Linked DNA regions of Homo sapiens: region 2 is linked to region 1. The links are contacts of gene promoters, found by promoter capture Hi-C in human tissues and cell types (Jung and others, 2019). All regions are on one chromosome and are shown on one strand. The core of a region is centred on a gene start or on the middle of the fragment in contact, and the rest is flanking DNA. Distances in the headings are between cores, read along the strand shown. Region 1 holds the start of MRPS18A (mitochondrial ribosomal protein S18A). Region 2 has its middle 53 kb from the start of LINC03040.

Region 1 (3,295 bases), core at 507-3,006:
TTTCTTGATCCTGGCTGGGACACCTAGACCTACACCTCACTAAGACCCTCTGCTTCACTCCTAATCCATGTGTCAGTCTCTACCACCTTGATTGACTTTTCTTTTAAGTTTCCCCTTCACCGGGTTTACCTTTGCTAAATGAGATGTTTTAACGTAACCCAATGCTGCATTTCTCCTGTTCTCCCTGTCTATGGTGATGCCACTCACATTTTCCATACAGCAGCTGCTCTGCATCCTCCTATTAGGGTGACGGTCCCAACTGGATGATGGGCTCCTCTCCTACTCATCAGAAAACATGCTATGTCATTTAATAAGCCTGATTTTCCCATCTTGAATCAGAGAAGGATAGGAAGAACTGAGTTGTGAATGATTTTCCTTTCCTGTGGAGCTCCAGAGGAACATCCTATACGTCTCACAAATCTGAAAGAGGAAAAACTGGCAGTTGTATTTTCTCTTTGGTACCATAAGCTTCCTTACAACACAAGTGAGTCCAACTTGTGAAAAGAGTCATCTCCATAACTGCTCTATTAACTAGCTTATGTTTATTGAGCCCTTTTGTTTTGTTTTGTTTTGTTTTGTTTTGTTTTTGAGACGGAGTTTCACTCTTGTCGCCCAGGCTGGAGTGCAATGGTGTGATCTTGGCTCACTGCAACCTCCGCCTCCTGGGTTCAAGCGATTCTCCTGCCTCAGCCTCCCAAGTGTCTGGGATTACAGGTGCCCGCCACCACACCCACCTAATTTTTGTATTTTTAGTAGATAGGGTTTCACCATGTTGGTCAGGCTGGTCTTGAACTCCTGACCTCAGGTAATCCACCCGCCTCAGCCTCCCAAAGTGCTGGGATTACAGGCATGAGCCACCACACCCGGCCGATCACTTATGTTTTATCACATCTAATCTTCAGGGTCTAGTCCTCCCCTAGGCCCTATAAAATAGATTCTACTCATTCATTCAACAAGTATATATTGTACTCTTATTATGTGTCAGGAACTATTCTAAGTGCTGGAGATGTGCGAGTCAACAGAAAACAATGTTCCTGACTTCATGGAGCTTACAGTCTGGTGAGAAGACACATACAAAACAAACATAAAACTGAAATTGTCCCAAGCACTAAGATGGAGAGGCATCTGGTGCTGAGAATGGGCAGTCAAGCAAAACTGTGGAAATAAGGTTTGAGGTGAGCTCTAAGAAATAAGCAGAAGCTAACTAGACAGCTAAAGAGCAGACAAAGGAAATAGCTTGTATCAAGGCCCTGGGGCTAGAGAGAGGTCTAAGTATATGCAAATCAAAGATCAGTGTGGCAGTGGTCAGGGAAGAAGGGGGTATCAATTCTATCCCAGGTCTGCCTGATATCCGATACTCCAGAGCCAGAGTTCCTAACCATTTCAGCCTCTCCCGTAGAGGTCTAGCCCCAGTCACAGAAGCTAAAAGTCCACAGCTCACGTGCAGTGAAGAGAAAGCTTTAAAGACATAGGTGGGGTGTTGCGTGCGATTTTCCTAAGGAAGCCTTCCAGGAAACGAATGCAACCTTGAAGACTTGTAGGCATTGGCAGACAGGAGCTAGAAGACCTCCCCTAGATCCTTAACACGAAATATAGGCTTGACGCAGAAGCCTCTCTTCGTATCCCAAAGCGGACAGGTGAGAGAAATGATGTGACAGGAGCAAGCGAACTACAACCCCGCCCCGCCGTTCCTGCCCCACCACTGCGGCGGCGGGCGCTACGTTCCGGAAGCGGAAATGGACGAGAGGTCAGGGTAGGTTTTTGAAGATGGCGGCCCTCAAGGCTCTGGTGTCCGGCTGTGGGCGGCTTCTCCGTGGGCTACTAGCGGGCCCGGCAGCGACCAGCTGGTCTCGGCTTCCAGCTCGCGGGTTCAGGGAAGGTGAGTCATGCGTCCCAGCAACCTCCTGAAATTAAGAAGAGCGGCAGAGACTGCTTCCGCCAGCCCCGGTGCGCTCCTTCCTACCTTTCCTTCGTCCGATTCTGAAACTTTGGAGGTACCGGCTCCCCAGGCGTGCTTAAAAGCCCCTTCCACACCCTGGTGCCTTATCTTGATCTCCTGCCCCTTGTGAGTATCTTCACAAGGCGGAGGAGGACGGAGAGAAAAGCCTGCTTACTTAGCAGGAGCAGACACTAAACCTGTCCTAGGGCTCAGAAAAGTTTTCGGAAAGGGTTTGCATGTTAATTCTTCCTTCCATGTTCTCCGAATCGCAGTCTCTTTTATTAAAGAGTCTCTGGATCACGAAGGAAGGCCATCTGGGTACCCTCCCAGAGCCTCCCTTTCCACTTTCCCTTCTCAAAATGCTGTGATCTGATGGCGGCGTTCTCTGCCCCGGGCCGCTAGTCTCCCTGTGAGGGGGAGGCCAAAGTGGAAAGGCCATTGAATAGCTGAGACATAGGCAAATGCAGGATGGTAGTTCAGCTTTTCATTAATCTTAATCTGGGAAAGCGGCCTGATTCGAGCATCAACTGAGAGTTTACTGAATGCCAAGTGCTATGCTTCAAGCTGTGAAGGAATTCTGGAGACAGAAAATACAGCCCTTTTTCTGAAAAGCTTAGGTTCTAATGAGATTATGTATATACACACTCCAATAAATGCAAGTTAGCCTTTTACGTGACGAAGTACAGGGAGACTCAGTTACTGGAAACGGCAAACCCAGTTGGAAGTTTTCATAAAGAGGATGTGTCTTGAGCAGGCTCACAAAAGGATGGAATCTGGCGGAGAGTGAAACGGTCTTTTAGGACATAGCCTTCCTTTGTGTACTCCTGGAAGCAGGAAAGGATGAGTGATGTGCAAAAGAAGAGATGTGGGGTTTTTTGAGGATCTGGCATAGTATTGGGCAGCATATCCTTTAACGAAAGCTGAGAAGTATCCAGTGGAAAAGAGTGATCATTGTTGTCAGAGGGAGCAGAAAAGTCTAAAAAGGGCCTAATGAAGGGGCCATTGGATTTGTCTCAGAAGAGGTCTCTTTGTAGCTTTCAAACAGCAATTTCAATAGAGTGGCAAACAAGGAATCCAGTTTGGAGAAATGAAAGAGATAGTTGATGAAGAGATGGAAATAGTAAGTATGTTTGAAGAATTTAGCCCGTAAGGGAAGTGGAGCATTTGCTAGAAAAAAAAGTCTGGATATTGCCTGATTAACTTATCCATTAGTAGACCCATTAATAAAGACACTAAAGAAATCATGCAGATGATAGAGAGGACTTGGATGTTTCATTTGTTCCCATGCTGCAAAATAGGCATATCTCCATACCATTTTGGGGAGTCTACCAAGTGTCAAACACTATTGGCTACAAT
Region 2 (3,091 bases), core at 531-3,030, 260 kb before region 1:
GATTTCCTCTCCAGACCCTCCAGCTGGTTCTACTGGAAGCAAACAATGCCGTGCTAACCAGCCTCAGCTCTTTCTCACTGGGATGCTGGACTGCTGGAGGTGAGAATGCTGAGTTTTGGCCAAGAGGGTAATATAGGCCTGTTAGGATATGCTAGTGAGGCCAGCTCCCATGCTAACAGCAGGGACTCAACCATGGTGACAAATGATGAATGGACACCTGGAATTCTCTAGGGCTTGTTTCACGGCCCTTGTCCTTGGCCCCATCCCCCTCAACATTTTTATCAATTGCTTGAATGGAGACCTGAGAAGCTCCCCTCCCTCTGTTTGCAGATGACCCACAGCTGAGAGGAGCAGGCTTGGCAGCACAATGAGGATTCAAAATTAGCCTGACAGTGCCTGGAACAATGGGTAAAACCAACAAGAGAGATCAACAGTAGGCATAAGTGACAAGTCCAGCTCTAGGGAGAGAAAAAAATCAAGTCAAAAGGCACATGGGGATTGATCCTACAGAAATGCTGACTTATGTGCAAAAGGAGTCCTGGCAACATGGCCTTAAATGCTGCAAAGGCCTAGAAACAACCAAAATGTCCACCAGTAGGGGATTGGTTGAATACTTTAGGTAGATCCACACAATGGAAGGCTATGGGCCTGATACAGAGAATGAGCCAAGGAATTATGTACGGATAAGGAAAATTCCCCAAGATACCTGGTTAAGTGAAAAAGCAAGGTGCCCGACAGTGCACACTGATAGTGTAGACTATGCAGCTCTTTGTATGATTAGGAATGTGTGTCTCCGTTTGTATATGTACAGATCATCTGCAGACAGATACACAAGAAAAGTGTATCTGAAAAGTGGCTGGCTGGGGTCTTGCTTTGTACTGTATGTATATCTTTTGTGTATTTTTTTGTGCCATATATATATTTGTGTGTGTGTGTGTGTGTGTGTGTGTGTAAATGGATAAAGCAGCCCTTGTATCAATTCTAGTGAAAAAGACCTGTAAGTCTGGCCCACCATAAACTCACTGAGCGCTAATTAAAAACAAAAACAAACAAACAAACAAAAAACACCAAACTGACTGTAATGTGAGGTTATACCCACAGGAACACAGGGCCCTGACAGGAGGTATATGTTCTGCTATGCTCTGAGCTGGTCAGGCTGTACTCGGAGTGTGGGGTCTCTCTGAGGAGCCATGTTTGAGGAGAAACATTGGCAGTTAGAACAGACCTAGGGGAACAGCTTGGCTGGGGTGGGAGCAGGGTAGAGGAGAGAACCTTGGTGGGCTTGGAGATGCTGGAGGAATGGAGAGCTATCGAGTTTGGACAAGATGCCTGTGCCTGTGGGATGGGAGAGGAATATGCTGACTCTCTCTGGTTTACTAAAGGACTGGCATGCAGAAGCAGGAGGAACCTGATTATTTTATTTGTTCTGAAGAACAGAACTTGGATCAATGGTTTGGAAGGTACAGAGAGGTAAATCTTGGCCTTAGGAAGTCCTATCAAGAATTGGAACAGCCCACTAGTACAGGAATGGGCTCCCATCACCAGGTGTTTTCAGGTAGCCACTGTGATCATCTATCTAGGATGTTGGAGTGAGCATTGACAATCACCAGGGCCCATATTCTTGGGCTCACTACAGGCTTATTGAAACTGAATCCCTGTAGTTAAAGTCTAGAAATCTGCTTTACTTATTTATTTTTACCTCAGATATAGATAATTGATTCAATTATACTCATTGATTCCCAGCATCCTAACAGTAGTCTATTCAAAGCCCCCTTGAAATGTTACTTTTCATTGTATTTTTTCTCCTTCACCTACATTTCCACTCTCATTCTTCCCGCCTTCCGACCAGACCTAGACCTTCATTCTATGTGTTTGATATAGGTCTTTAAATATGCATCTTCTTTGTATGCCGGGTGGTGGTGTTTTCTGCATGTTTTATAATTTATATAAATGGTACTATGCTGTAATTCTCCTTCTGTTTCTCACTTTTTTCATTCAACATTGCTATTAAGATCTATGTCTGTACATCTGGCCTGTTTCTAACTGCCACTTGGAAAGAAGCCACCCACCTTACTTATCTACTCCTCCAGGGATGAACATTTATGTTGCCTCCGACTTCCTACTACCCCAAATTTTGCTGCCACAAGCACCATGTACAAGTCCTCTTTCATTCCTGCATGATCATTCTCCCCTGCTATAGACCCATTTGTGAGATTCTGGGATGCAGGCCATACACATATTTAGTTTCACTAGATACAGACAGATTGCTCTCAGAATGGCTGTACTAGTTTATCCTCTCGCCTATAGGACACAAGAGTCCCATCTCCCTATACTGAGCATGATCCACCTTTCTAATTTGTGCCATTCACTTAGGCGTGAAGCTATATTATTGTTTGAAGCATGCATCTCTCTGATGACTAGTGAATTAGCATATCTCTTCATCAGCCACTGCACTCCCTCTTTTAGGATGTGCCTATTCATATTTTTTGCCCATTTTTTTTTTCTATTGAGTTTCCTGTCTTTTTCTTGATGATTAACAGGAGTTCCTTGACTATTTTCTTTCTCTCTCTCTCTCTCTCTCTTCTGGCTCCAGTGCTCAACCTTGAGCTTGACTATTTTACATATTAATCGCTGCCAGGTTTTTAAGTGGCAAATGTCTTCTCCCAGTTGGAGAATCTCCCATCTTAGCAAGTGTACTAAGGATCAGCCAGGTTTGGGAAGCCCAAGGACAGATATATGCCACCCGAAATCATTTCTAATTCTGCCATTTCATGCTTTCTTGGGCTTTCTGAGGAGATTCCTTGCCACTTCTGTGGGGAAAACAGACTTCAGGAGGGGCGAGGGTGGGTGAGGGTTGGGGAGTCATTGTGAATGTGGATGTGGAGCTGGGGTGCCACCTGCATTTTGACCACCTCTAGCAGCAAAGCATTGTGTTGTGAAGATGTTTATGTGACCTGGCTCAGCCAGGCTTGTGAGATCTTCCTGGGGCAGAAGGCTGATAGGCAGTTCATTGGGATAGAGTATAGACCATCTCATTGTTCAGAAGAGATCACCAATCTACTGGAATTTTCTTAACTATAGAAGCTTAATT

What was found. Contacts are between HindIII fragments. The study calls those that stand out against the background at their distance.
Region 2: a fragment that was not itself captured here is called in contact with the fragment with the promoter of MRPS18A in region 1 in 4 of the 25 tissues and cell types used here (IMR-90 fibroblasts, adrenal gland, neural progenitor cells and 1 more).

Annotation. Positions count from the first base shown.
Region 1 is chr6:43,686,252-43,689,546 of GRCh38, reverse strand. MRPS18A (mitochondrial ribosomal protein S18A) reads left to right here and starts at 1,756. Exons shown (of 6, transcript NM_018135.4): 1 at 1,756-1,879. The coding sequence starts at 1,768. It overlaps LOC124901320 (a long non-coding RNA gene), which reads right to left and starts at 585. Exons shown (of 2, transcript XR_007059586.1): 1 at 208-585. RefSeq lists enhancers at 1,386-1,997, 1,943-2,002. The HindIII fragment of the contact is 2,163 bases long and covers 964-3,126 here.
Region 2 is chr6:43,946,188-43,949,278 of GRCh38, reverse strand. No RefSeq gene overlaps it. Among named protein-coding and RNA genes, the nearest start is that of LINC03040, 53 kb to the left of the region's middle. The HindIII fragment of the contact is 7,768 bases long and covers 1-3,091 here.